Regions from separate parts of the Homo sapiens genome. Here regions 1, 2, 3 and 5 are each linked to region 4. The links are contacts of gene promoters, found by promoter capture Hi-C in blood cells and fetal thymus (Javierre and others, 2016). All regions are on one chromosome and are shown on one strand. The core of a region is centred on a gene start or on the middle of the fragment in contact, and the rest is flanking DNA. Distances in the headings are between cores, read along the strand shown.

Region 1 (2,706 bases), core at 194-2,693, 2.5 Mb after region 4:
TATTCGTCTAGTCTTTTTCCTATGCATAAACACCTTTTTAAGATAAAGAAATTTACATTATGTTTTCTAACATACTTTTTCATATAATGTATCATGAACATTTTTCATGTTGTTGAATACTTACCCCAACATTATTTTCAGTAGCACCATAGTATTCCATTATATGGATATACCATGTTTATTTAACTAATCATTTATTTTTTAATTTTCCAATCTTTGCTTCTTTTAAACAGCTCTGGGATAAATACCCTTGTAGCAGTATTTTTGTACAGAGGGTAGATGTAGTGGTTAAGAACATAGCTCTGAAGTCAGACTTCTTGGGTTCAAATCCTGGCTTTGCCACTAACTAGCTATATGACTTTGCATTGATACTTACTCTCTATGTTTCAGTTTCCCTTATCTCAGAACTAGAGATAATAATAGTATCTACCTCATAGGGTTGTTATGAGGATTAAATTACTTAATATATGAACATAGTAAGAACAGTGCCAGGTACATAGTAAGTGCTCAGTAAATATTAGCTATTATTATGTTACCAGTATAAAATCCTTAGACATGAAGATTATTAGAATATTTTTGATCAGTATATCTTCAGGAATGTTACTATGCATCATTTTGTGTTACAAGACAAAAACTCTACCATTAATTAGTGAAAATATGAGATTTTCTCTACTTTTAAAATTTCTTTCCTAAAGATACAAACATTGTAAGATAGCACTTAGTAATCAGTGAGCCTGCTGCTGATTTTAGGCTTGATGCTTGGCACTGGCAGAAACAAGTCACATATGTCAGCCACCAGTAGTGCTGGTCTTATGTAGGAATCCCCAGGGTTGCCATCTCACCAACACTAGTCCCCAACATCTTGGTAATTGAGTGTGTAGAGGGAATGACCTTCAAGAAATTTATGGTAACTTTTCATGCCTTGAATCGTGGTTTAATTTGCTTCGAATGGCTTTTATTTTTTTTAACATTTCAGGGTTGAACATTCTGATGAGTCAGTGATTCAGTGATTCACAAGCTTGCTGTTCTGTCTTCAAATATTATGCATTTCCAGATGTTATTTATTGTGTAAGGTGATTTTAAACCAGTATATTTCAGGACAGTCATATAGAAAAATACATACCCTACCTGGATCTGCCTCATTAAGAAATACTACCAAAATCAGTGAGAAGAGTATTACTGTTTTTGAAAATGAAGTGTCTAACTTAAAAAAAAAAAGGCATTCAATTTTTCAGGCCATAAAACAAGAGTATAGACACGTTCATGTGTATAAACATTAACCCTAACTGAGATCGATTTTAAGAATACTGAGAAGATCCTTAAGGATCTCATTTTGAAAATCACTTGCTATATACGTCAGTAACTCTTGCTTTGGTTTAGTGGAGTTCAGGGAATAGCTTCATTAATGTCTACAAACTTGTTTTATGGACCTTGAAATTACAGCCTTTAATTCCCATTAAAAAAAAATGTCTCTAAGTTTTGAGTGATGTTAGAAAACAAATAAAAAATTATTACCACCCCAGTTTAAGAGCTCAATAATTAAGTAAGACTATTTTGATTATAAATGGTAGCAGTGGCAACTTGGTAGTTTTTATTGTTGACAATTGAATACGTAAGTTAAATAATGGGGCTCCTCAGCAGAATAAGGTTTGTAAAAGAGGACTTTTCAGCAGTTGAAGTAGATTGAAGTTTTTATTTGGCCTTTTTTTTCATTCTTTTACTTGCAACCAGCTTTTTAAAAAAGAATCTTTGACTTGAATCCTTAAATGCTGGCTTGAACTGTTATTTTGTGTAATTTTTTACTTGCCTCAATCTTGTCCTTTCTAACCATGTTTTGTGACTAATCCTCTGTGAGGGAGTGTCTGGGTAAAGCTTTTGGGCCTTAAGTAACATAACTAGGCTACATGCATGAGTCACAACTGACCTAAATATAATCCCCAGGAAATGATTAGTTTGCCAGGTTTCTCCTCTAAGGGTTAGTTAGTGCTGTTTCTTAAAAGACTAAGAGAAATTAGAAAGATAAATATATTTGTAGTCACTATCAGAAAGTGAATAAGAAAAATGAACACGGCAAATTTAGCTTCTTATGGATCTTTCCACTTGGTAGTTGATTTGGCTGTCTTTTGAACTTTAACATGAAGTTCAAATGAGATATGGGTAGTATTTTAAAAATTTAAGCCTGTTTACTTTTCTACCCAGCTAATATTCTTTGCTTACTTTCCTCTGCTTTTTTCATACTTTTTACTCTCCAGAACTGCCTAAAGTTACAGAAGGTGCGTAACACCTTTTCTTCTTCTATTCCATATGTTTTTATTAGTTGCCTTTGTTATATACCGTTGGTTGTATGTTTTATGAAATGATGTACTGGGACAAATTTATTTTAAAAATCTACATAGTAATAAAATTAATGATAGTATTTATTATTGGCTTTCAAGGACATATCATTAGAAAATACTTCTGAAGCAGTTAATTATAATCATGTAAAATATTTGTTTAAGTCTACTTGTGTAAGGACCTGTACAGAATGATTTGGGCAGTCCCTGCCCCCTAGTGGCTAATAAGCTGTCACACATGACAGTTGAACTTTTTCGCAGTGAATTAAATGGACTCGTTGAAAGGACAAGGAGATCGGTAATATCTCTCTAAAGAACTTATATACTAAAATCTGTAATTGCCTGTACCAAAAGTTTTAGTCTTCTTTTTGTT
Region 2 (2,700 bases), core at 122-2,621, 2.5 Mb after region 4:
ACCATTGTGGAAGTCAGTGTGGCGATTCCTCAGGGATCTAGAACTAGAAATACCATTTGACCCAGCCATCCCATTACTGGGTATATACCCAAAGGACTATAAATCATGCTGCTATAAAGACACATGCACACGTATGTTTATTGCGGCACTATTCCCAATAGCAAAGACTTGGAACCAACCCAAATGTCCAACAATGATAGACTGGATTAAGAAAATGTGGCACATATACACCATGGAATACTATGCAGCCATACAAAATGATGAGTTCATGTCCTTTGTAGGGACATGGATGAAATTGGAAATCATCATTCTGAGTAAACTATCTCAAGGACAAAAAACCAAACACCGCATGTTCTCACTCATAGATGGGAATTGAACAATGAGAACACATGGACACAGGAAGGGGAACATCACACTCTGGGGACTGTTGTGGGGTGGGGGGAGGGGGGAGGGAGAGCATTAGGAGATATACCTAAAGTTAAATGACTAGTTAGTGGGTGCAGCACACCAGCATGGCACATGTATACATATGTAACTAACCTGCACAATGTGCACATGTACCCTAAAACTTAAAGTATAATAATAATAAAAAATAAAAAAATTAAAAAAAAAGAGATGATTTCTGCACTTCTGAGAGAATCTCCTAGAATGTGTATACGGAGTTCAGCACTGTGCATTTGTAATGACTGCCCTTTATTGTAATATCACTCTACAATATGTATATTAAATAAGGCAGCTGCATAAGAAAAGCATTGAGACGCAATGTGATTCTGCAAGCCAATCTTTGCCTTCCTTATATTTATTTGTATGTCACATTATATTACTTTCCAATAATGATGTCAAATGTGCATCTACTATCTAACTAATATTTATTTATAATATTTACTTAATTAATATTGATACAGGTAATTACCATCCTTATTTAGTGACTCCCTGACTTCCTCCCATAAAGCTACAAAGAAATGGAAAGTATCACGTGGGGATATTTACATCTATTTCTAACAAAACCTAAAACAAACACCAATTGCTTTATGTATTTAACAGTAGAGACATTTCTTCCTTGCTGCAGTTGTTAAAGATATTTAGAAAATAAAGAATCTGGGCCTAGGTGGGCAGATCACTTGAGCCCAGGAGTTTGAGACCAGCCTGGGCAACATGGCAAAACCCCATCTCTACTAAACCCCATCTCTACTAAAAATACAAAAGATCACCCAGGCATGGTGGCATGTGCTTGTAGTCCCAGCTACTTAGGAGGTTGAGGCAGAAGAATCGCTTGAACCTGGGAGGCAGAGGTTGCAGTGAGCTAACGCCATTGCACTCCAGCCTGGGTGACAGAGCAAGACTGTCTCCAGAAAAAACAGAACGAAAAAGAAAATAAAGAATCTGGGAAGTGCAGCATTGTAACTCTCATTGTCCACCCCCCACCCCCACAAAGAGTTACTTGGTGTTCTTTGTGTTGATACTAATAGTCTTACATCTCTGAAAAAAAGTTCTTCCTTTCTTAGACAGGAACATGCATCATTAAATTATAAGAAAACAATGCTAAGAAATAGGGAAGAGAAAAATCAAAGTAAGTGTCATAATAAATGTCAAATGTTTAAAATGTCACATTTCAAATTGAAATTATATAAATCTACATGATTTTAAACATTTGAACATTTTAAACATTTGAAGATCCCTTAGCTTTATACCCAAATTAAAATTAATCAGACTGATATCAAAAGACAGTTTGGATGCCAGTAAAAGAGGCATCCAAATATGAAATATGAAAGTCCACTTCCATGAAATCTATGAGTTTTCTCACTAAACAATGTCCTCAAAGCCAGTGGAGCTACCACCGATGTCATCAGAGACAGCCCTAGAGGGAGTGGGGCACTTTTGCCCTTCCTCCTTCAGGGGTTCAAGCTGAGGAAAAGGATGGTCTCCCTCCCCCTTCAAAAGGTGCAAAATGGATTCAGGTCTTGAGAAGAACATGAAGTCTTTACAATCTTCAGGCCTCTGCTTTACTGGTGCACAGTAACAAGAGCGATTTCTCTGAGGAAACAATTAACTTCTATAAATCATCAATATTTACTACTCTTCACCATTTAGAAGAGACTTTTCCCTTGGAGCTTACTAACAATGGAAAAGTTATTTCATGCTATGTAAGTATGAGATTCCCTCATATGTGATACATGTTAATATATACAGCCTTCTTTCTATGTAAAGGAAGCGGGACCTCAGAACCTCCTTGGGCAGAACCTCCTTGGGTGACTATTACATGTTTTTCAAGTAGGTAAATCTGCCCAATTTAATCTACTAAACCAATCTGCATGTAATAACAGCTACCATTTATTGAATGCTTATACTGTGTGCCAAGCAATGAGACAAGTGCTTTACAAGAAACATCTTAGCAAATATGCCCAAGATGGGATTACTATTTTTTATATACAGATGAGAAAATTGAGGCTCTGAAGAGTTAAGTAACTTGCCCTGTGGTCACTGACTCAGTAAAGGGTAAAGACCAGATTTGAACCCCTGGTCTGTGTGATTCCGAAACAGGAAAATTCCCTTATCCCCATCGCAGGGCATGCGATGGGGGTGTCACTCACTTCTTCAGTGCCCCACTGCTCAAACCTCTAGGGGGAGCATGCAGAAGGGCAGGTTGTGGGGCTCGGACTCCACGGCAGCGTATAGGGGTGAACGTTTACAGCTCCTGAA
Region 3 (2,700 bases), core at 106-2,605, 2.6 Mb after region 4:
TGTCTTTTTTTTTAATTGAAGTGAAATTTACATGATGAAATGCATAGAGTTTAAGTGTACTATTTGAAAAGTAAATTCTCTAAATGTATACACTTGTGTAACCACTACCCCAATCAATGTAATATTTTCATTACCCTAAAAAGTTGTGTCTTAACTCTTAACGGGCAATCTGCAGCCCGCCTCACCTCCCCAGACAACTCTTGTTTTAATTTCTGGCCCCATAGTTTTAATTTTACTTGTTCATCAACTTCATGTAAATGGAGTCATACAGTATTTGTCTGGTTTCTTTTGCTCAAATAATGTTTTTGAGATTCATCCATGCTGTTGATGTGTATCAGTAGTTCCTTTTATCCCTTAGTATTGCACTGTATAAATATATCATACTTTACCCCTTCTGCTGTTGATGGGGGTTTAGGTTGTTTCCAGTTTGGGGCTACTATGAGTAAAGCTGTGAACATTCTTGTAGAGTATTTTTGTGAATATTTTTTATTTCTATAAATACCTGGGAATAAAATCACAGGGTTATAGTCCAGAAGTATGTTTAACTTTATAAAAAAACTGCCAGACTTTTTCCAAAGTGATTTTACATTCCTGTCAGCAATGTGTGAAGATTCCAGTTGCTCCAGATCTTTGTCGACATTTGCTATTGTCGGTCCTTGTAATTTTAGTCATTCTAGTTTGGGAGAAAATGTACCTTGTTGTTTTAATTTGTATTTCCATGTTGACTACTGTTGAGCACCATTTCATATCATCATTCCCATTCAGACACCTATGCGAGGTGTCTGTTCGAATCTTTAGCGCAACTAAATTACAGTTTTAGCCCAAATTAATGTTCTTATTGGGATGTTTGTCTTATTATTGAGTTGTAAGAATTCCTTTTATATTCCCTATACAAATCCTTTGTCAGATATTGTGAATATTTTCTCCCACTCTTTGGTTTGCCTTCTCTATTTTAATTGAGTATTTTGATGAGCAGACATTTTAAATTTTGATGAAGTCCAATTTATCAAATTTATCTTTTATGTTTAGTGCTTTTAAAAGAGGCCTCTCTGAGAAGTCTCTGCCTACTTCAGGCTTAGGAAAAATCTTTGTTTTCTCCTAGAAGCTTTAGGATTTTAACTTTTACATTTAGTTGTATGAGGAAGTATTTATTTTAATGCAGTAACAGGAATATCATAAGCATTGGCTTTAAATCTGAATTTTCCAGAAGGCTACCTACCTGAAGAAAAACAAAAAATAATTGCTTCATATTAAAATAATTTTTTCTTCTTATTGTGAAACAACAATCATAGCTATAATAAGATAATGATGTTTCATTCTTTTCTCTCAGGACTTTAATTTTTGGAAGTGAATAAAACTTGTTTTAGAAGACGAGATGACTACAGCTGTAGAGAGAAAGTATATTAATATTAGGAAAAGGCTGGATCAGCTGGGATACCGCCAGACTCTGACAGTGGAGTGTTTACCTTTGGTAGAAAAACTTTTCAGGTAAAGACAAAAATACAGTTTTCAACCTTTATGATCCCTAACCACTTACCTCATTTCTGATTGAACTTCATGCTTTGGTAAAGAAAAGGGTAGCTTTCCGGAAAGGCTTTCAATCATGAAGCTTATCTGTTTTTTCCCTGTCCTCAATCCAGGCCTTCCACACGGCAGAACTCTAAAGGCCACCACTCACGCTGTACTGTTCAAAGTCAACATTTCTGGGGGTTTTCTCTGTGAATGGAATTACAGTTTTTTGGGTTTCTGATATAATTGAGAGACACTTTTCCCTTAAGTTCTTTTTTTTTCCCCCCCTTAAGTTCTATGTCTGCTTCACTGGTCTTCAAATACAGTCATGGATAGTTTCATGACAGGGATACGTTCTGAGAAACATGTCATCATTAGGTGATTTTTTCGTTGTACCAACATCATAGGGTGTGCTTACACAAACCTAGATGGTGTCGCCTACCACAAACCTAGGCTATATGGTCTGTATCCTATGGCTCCTAGGCTACAAACCTGTATAGCATGTTACTATACTGAATACTGTAGGTAATTGTTAACACAGTGGTGCCTATTTGTATATCTGAACATATCTAAACATAGAAAAGGTATTGTGTTGTGCTACAGTGTTACAATGGCCAGATCTCATGAGGCAATAGGAATTTTTCAGCTGCCCCCATTATAAATCTTACAGGACTACTCTCCTTCCTATATGTGGTCTGTCGTTGACCAAAATGTCATCATGTGGTGCATGACTGTATTTTAAGCCTCTTTAGAAATATGTTTTTAGTTATTAGAAAGTTAATGAAATATTTCCTGGTATTTAAATTTTCTGTTCTTTTAGCGACTTAGTTCATACAACTGAGAGCCTTCGGCAATCAAAATTATCTGCTGTGAAAGCTGAAAAAGAAAGTGCCAATTTTGATTTTGTTTTGGAACCCTATAAACTTGAAAATGCAAGATTGAGTAGAGAAAATAATGAATTATACCTAGAGTTAATGAAACTGAGAGAACATTCAGACCAACACGTTAAAGGTAAGTGAAAATTTGATAATTTTTAAAATGCAATGTCTTTGTCCTTTTTATTTTAGAAGGAAAAGCTAACGTCTAATTTTAAAACTATTGATTAGAAAATATAGTAGTCCTACAGCTGGATGGTGTGTGCCTATAGTCCCAGCTACTCGGGAGTTTAAGGTGGGAGGATTGCTTGAGCCC
Region 4 (2,700 bases), core at 38-2,537:
GGTGGGCAGATCACCTGAGGTCAGGAGTTCAAAACCAGCCTGGCCAAAATGGTGAAACCCCCTCTCTACTATAAATACAAAAATTGGCTGGGCATGGTGGTGCGTGCCTGTAATCCCAGCTACTTGGGAGGCTGAGGCAGAAGAATCGCTTGAGCCCAGGAGGTGGAGGTTGCAGTGAGCAGAGATCGCACCACTGTACTCCAGCTGGGCAACAGAGTGAGACTCCGCCTCAAATAAATAAACAAACAAACAAAAAACCTAGACAAACCTAGAGCTCCAGTTTGAACCATGGTATGTCATCTTTTCACTGGAAGATGTGCTTTCAGAAGCGGCCTGAACATTTGGTTTACCTATTAAAATAAAAACTGTACATACTTTATGATCTATCTTTGAGAAACAGACAAATCTGCAAGGAGCCGTGTGGATCTTCATTGTCATTTTTTGTTGTAGTTAAAAGTGTAAAGTCAAAAGCAATCTGGGTGTACATCAATGGAGAAATAGCCATATTCACTCTGTGATAGCCATACTATGCAATTTTATGAAGCACTTAAAATAGATATAGTTTGATTCATACTAAAATGAAAAAGAGCTCCAAGACACGGATGCTAAAAAAAAAGAAAAAAAAGGAAGTCGAAGGATGATACTATACTGTACTGTACTATTTAAGACTTGTCAATCTCAGGTTCTCCCACCAAAACAGCACAACACATGAAGTAAGTGTATAGGAAATTTCGGAATGATGAACTCCAAACAGGATATGCATCTGTAGCAAGGGCTACCTCCGGAGAGAAGGGTAGGGGAATGAGGCGGTCTTTGACCTTGACAGTAATTTATGGTTTTTAACAAGGAGAGTGCATTCTTCATCTATTAGTTTTGCTTTTGTTGGCTGTGAAAATTAATTTTTTGAGAAATAGTACTGATTGTGATTTCTTCTCTATTCAGTGAGGAAAGGGAGTGACAGGTAATGATTCTGTATCAAGGCTGATTAAAGAATAAAAGAAGGCCTTTCTGAAGATTAAAAAACAAATAAAAAGTTGAGAAGAAAGAGCACGAAGAGTAGAAGGGAACAATGGTGTACTCGCCAGCAATGGCAATACGGGTTATTAAAAAGAAGGGTGGGGGCGGGGAACCCTGGCCGACTCAGGACGCCACGGGAGGAAGCCACGCAAAATAGCAAACCGGGATCCTAGAGGGGCGGGGCCCACCTCAGCGCGCAGGCGCAACCAGGCCCAGGTGGCCGCCGCGGAAGCGAAGCCACCTATACGCGCCGCGCCGCTTGGGTCTCCTGCGCATGCGCAGACGGACCTGCGCTGGAGGCTTCATCTTTGCCGCCGCTGCCGTCGCCTTCCTGGGATTGGAGTCTCGAGCTTTCTTCGTTCGTTCGTCGGCGGGTTCGCGCCCTTCTCGCGCCTCGGGGCTGCGAGGCTGGGGAAGGGGTTGGAGGGGGCTGTTGATCGCCGCGTTTAAGTTGCGCTCGGGGCGGCCATGTCGGCCGGCGAGGTCGAGCGCCTAGTGTCGGAGCTGAGCGGCGGGACCGGAGGGGATGAGGAGGAAGAGTGGCTCTATGGCGGTACGAAACTTCCTGTCTCTGTCTCTCGGGTTCTCTCAGGCCTCCCCTCTTGGCCCTCAAACGGCCGGCGTCCCTGGCCTCTCGCGCCGCCGCTTCGGGCCTCTGGTTGGGAGTCCTGTCCGGCCTGACTTAGGCCGAGCGCGGCGTGCGCGTGCCCCCAGTCCCCGCGGCGGTCTCCCGCCTGGCCCACGCCCACCATGCGCATCCACCCCTGTGGCGGCCGGGCCGGGCTGGGGGGCTGTGACCGGTCCTGGCCCCCGGCTTCGCTGTGCTTTCCCCGAGGCGTCTCGATCGCCTAGCTGCTGCGCTCTTTACCCTTGTTTTTTTCTGTCGATTCTGAGGTGGTGGTTTTTGGTGTCTGTTTTTGCCCTGTGGCCTTAGGGTGCCCTTCCTGTCCCTTCTTTCAGAAACAGTCATTCTGTAATAATAGCTAAATAAAGTTAATGCTGTACAACTAACGTCTTGTTTCTTGATGGTCAGTTTGTATGGAATGCACCTGCAAGGGTACCTCCTTGTCTGAAAGTCGTGCTTTAAAAATAATTAATTAAGAGAGAGAGAGAGAAAGATGGCCCATAAAGAAAACTCTGAATGTCTCCTGTATTAAGGTGAAGTTATTCTTTTTTAAGAGACTACCGTTTAACCTACATCATGGAGGTATCTCATGACCCTTCGGCTTATAGTTTTCAGTGTCATCTCATGTATTTGTTTTTCTCAAAATAAATTTAATGCATCATGTACTTCTCTCTAGAAGGGTACTTGTTTGACATCTGGTTTTTAACTTTAAGTCACAATCCCTTCTTGCTTGTTAACACCAGATTTGAAAGTTAATGTTTGTTCCTTGCCTAAAACATATATTCTTGATTGTCTTTAGAATAGAATAGTAAAAGTGCACTTTGGGCACCATGCAGGTCCTTGATGATGTGACTTTGATAAACTTGTAAAAAAAAATCGTTTGGTGGCAAGATTTAGCATTAGTTACTACTCTTTGAAATGTGAATGTGTAGGATTTCTTTTACAAAGATCTGGAAATCTTCATTACCTCTTAAATTTAAGCTTATTTTTATAGCAGTAAAGTCTGATTTTTTTTTCCATAAAATAAGTATCTTGTTAAGTAATTATAAGGTGATCTA
Region 5 (2,700 bases), core at 195-2,694, 2.2 Mb after region 4:
CAAAAGCTAAATTTTATCCAAGTCAGTATCAGTGTCCCTTAGTTAAGGACAGTCTGCTTAGGTTCACTTCAGAGGAGCTCAAGAGGCTGGTGTAATCTACGAGGCTTTCGTAGGAGTCTGCAAGCAAGTACAGAAGGAAAAAAAATCAAAGTTTAACCCATACACTATCGATCAAGTCAAAAGCCAAAGAAAACCCTAAAACTTGGACTCTAAAGAGTCCTATAAAATTCATGGAATCCAAGCACCTTTTGGGTTTGTTTTGTTTAAAACAGGGTGTCACTCTGTCACCAAGGCTGAACTCCTGGGTTCAAGTGATCCCTCCACCTCAGCCTCCCAATTAGCTGAAACTACGGTGTGCACCACCCCATCTGGCTAATTTTTTTTAAAAAAATTTTGTAGCAAAGAGGTCTCACTATGTTGCCCAGGCTGGTCCTGAAATCCTGGGCTCAAGCCATTCTCCCACCTCGGCCGCTCGAAGTTTACAGTGAATTAAATCTATACCAGATAAAACTCACATCAGTATGACCTCCCTTCAAACTCTGCAAATGCCTCCATAACAATTGGCCCCTCACTAGTGAAAAGATGAGTATGACCTATGGTCTATATCAGATGTTAAGCTTTCTGACAGGCTCCAAGTCATGTCCCTGTCCTGTAGGTAATAACAGAGCCCATACTGGAGGCAAAATGGCAAAGCAGATGATCATTCAAGATGATTCCGTTTTCAAGGCTGAAAAGAACATATTTGCAAATGCACAGAAAAAGATCTACAAGATCATACAGTGGTGTTAACAGTGTTACCCTTCAGTCAAGGGTATACGAGTAGCTGTGCTCCCTAGATTCCTCTGGGGAGGAATGTGAGCTAGAAGTGGATGTAAAGGGGTTGTCACTTATTATATATACACTGTATTAACTTTTTATGAGCATCAATTTACTTCTGTAATTTTAAAAATAAGAGTCCCAGCTACTCGGGAGGCTGAGGCAGGAGAATCTCTTGAACCTGGGAGCCGGAGGTTGCAGTGAGCCAAGATCGTGCCACTGCACTCCGGCCTGGTGACAGAGCAAGACTCCGTCTCCAAAAAAAAAAAAAATTGAAATGTAATTCCATTTTTAAAAAAGATTGAACGGACCCACATGGAATTCAAATGAAAAATAAGTGACACTTTGCAGAAGTCTATTAGAAAAACCTACATATCAAACAGAAATAATATAAGTATCCTATCCTACAAAATAAAAAGGAATACTGGTAATATTACAAAAATGCCCACAGCAACTGCAATCCATTACTCACTATTCACTACTTTCATTACACAATATTAGTCACCAGGGGGAGTTTGAGGGTCCCCTCCCAAAATTATATCTCATCTAACAGCTGCCTGTGCAGTCTTAACCTCATTAAACAGGTTTTCAACAATCCAGTCCTAAAAAAATGTTCATTTTGTACACTTTCATGAGAAACAACCAGACACACACACACACACACACACACACACACACACCCCAATTTACCTTTCACTGGGGTTCATGTTTGATTTCCTCAAAAGAAAGAAAAGTTTCCCAACCTGAAAAGCAAACTAACCTAGACAATCAAGTTTACTAGCACTTTAAGGGAATGTTCACATCCTCCTCATAATTGTTTGTCATGAAACTTTGGGGTTAAGTAAAATTTTACCCATCTATGACTCCTGAAAAAAAGAGGAGGGGGAAACACAAACTACACTCTGAAAGCAGCATAATCCAGCCATAATGCCAAATGTAAACAGTCATATATTTTAGCAAGGCAAGATATAACTAAACATCTTTAAAAGATAAATGCCTGTGACCTCTGCAATCTTAAAAATTAAAGTGTAAATAGTCATAAAAGGTATCCCAAACTTCCTTTTTAGTTGATTTTCCTAAAAAATATGAAAAGCAATCATATTGAAAATGACTCAAATCACCATAAATTAGGCAACAAAAATCACACAAATTATTTGGGGGAGGAGGATTTTTGTTTAATCCAGTTTATGAGTCCATAATACACACAAAAATTTGAAAACATGAAGACATACACATAATACATCTCATTTCCCACCATTCCCTCAGACTATTTCTCCCTCTCCTCTATTGTTAGTTTTCTAAATCCTCCCATAATTTCTTTATATAAAGAGCAAACATAAACTTGTATTATTACACCTCGCCCTTAAGATGTAACACACTATTCACAAAGTACCGCTACACCTTGCTTTTTTCACTTCATAGCAAATTTTTGCAATCTTTGCATGTTAGTACGTAGAAAGCTTCCTTATTCTTTTTTCATAACTGATTACGCCTAGCTTTAGAACATTTTCAGTCTGCTTTCTTCAGGCTAACTTTTTTTTTTTTTACTTTTTTTATTATTATACTTTAAGTTCTAGGGTACATGTGCACAACGTGCAGGTTTGTCACATATGTATAAATGTGCCACGCTGGTGTGCTGCACCCATTAACTCGTCGTTTACATTAGGTATTTCTCCTAATGCTACAGGCTAACCTTTCAAGACATTCTGTTCAGCCAACCACTTATCACAGGAATTAATTTCCTTCCCCCAAGCTTTGAAAACCAATCAGATTTGAGGTGTCCCAAGGGATAAGTTTCAGAGAAAGCAATTCATTATCTAAATTACATCCTTTTAAGAATGTTTATTTTCAAACAGGTAGAGGGGAATATTGCACAATTTTCTC

The links. Contacts are between HindIII fragments. The CHiCAGO score rates a contact against its expected background, and 5 or more counts as called.
Region 1: a fragment that was not itself captured here is called in contact with the fragment with the promoter of FIP1L1 in region 4 in 1 of 17 cell types (total CD4 T cells); the score reaches 7.2 in total CD4 T cells.
Region 2: a contact is called between a fragment that was not itself captured here and the fragment with the promoter of FIP1L1 in region 4, in 2 of 17 cell types (non-activated CD4 T cells and activated CD4 T cells). The highest score is 6.3, in non-activated CD4 T cells.
Region 3: a fragment that was not itself captured here is called in contact with the fragment with the promoter of FIP1L1 in region 4 in 1 of 17 cell types (total CD8 T cells); the score reaches 5.8 in total CD8 T cells.
Region 5: a fragment that was not itself captured here is called in contact with the fragment with the promoter of FIP1L1 in region 4 in 1 of 17 cell types (total CD4 T cells); the score reaches 6.6 in total CD4 T cells.

The regions. Positions count from the first base shown.
Region 1 is chr4:55,864,620-55,867,325 of GRCh38, forward strand. The region is part of intron 4 of EXOC1 (exocyst complex component 1); the gene reads left to right. Among named protein-coding and RNA genes, the nearest start is that of EXOC1, 12 kb to the left of the region's middle. The HindIII fragment of the contact is 854 bases long and covers 1,017-1,870 here.
Region 2 is chr4:55,847,302-55,850,001 of GRCh38, forward strand. No RefSeq gene overlaps it. Among named protein-coding and RNA genes, the nearest start is that of EXOC1, 5.0 kb to the right of the region's middle. The HindIII fragment of the contact is 6,305 bases long and covers 1-2,700 here.
Region 3 is chr4:55,950,756-55,953,455 of GRCh38, forward strand. CEP135 (centrosomal protein 135) reads left to right here. Exons shown (of 26, transcript NM_025009.5): 2 at 1,331-1,488; 3 at 2,330-2,520. The coding sequence starts at 1,376. It overlaps LOC124900705 (a long non-coding RNA gene), which reads right to left. Exons shown (of 3, transcript XR_007058124.1): 3 at 1,636-1,716. Among named protein-coding and RNA genes, the nearest start is that of CEP135, 3.2 kb to the left of the region's middle. The HindIII fragment of the contact is 504 bases long and covers 1,104-1,607 here.
Region 4 is chr4:53,376,354-53,379,053 of GRCh38, forward strand. FIP1L1 (factor interacting with PAPOLA and CPSF1) reads left to right here and starts at 1,288. Exons shown (of 18, transcript NM_030917.4): 1 at 1,288-1,570. The coding sequence starts at 1,486. It overlaps LOC105377654 (a long non-coding RNA gene), which reads right to left and starts at 1,387. Exons shown (of 3, transcript XR_007058118.1): 1 at 1,306-1,387. RefSeq lists enhancers at 1,006-1,554, 1,356-1,445, 1,496-1,615, 1,555-2,103 and a silencer at 1,776-1,865. The HindIII fragment of the contact is 4,469 bases long and covers 1-2,621 here.
Region 5 is chr4:55,542,704-55,545,403 of GRCh38, forward strand. All of the region lies in intron 1 of CLOCK (clock circadian regulator), which reads right to left. Among named protein-coding and RNA genes, the nearest start is that of CLOCK, 2.9 kb to the right of the region's middle. The HindIII fragment of the contact is 1,659 bases long and covers 616-2,274 here.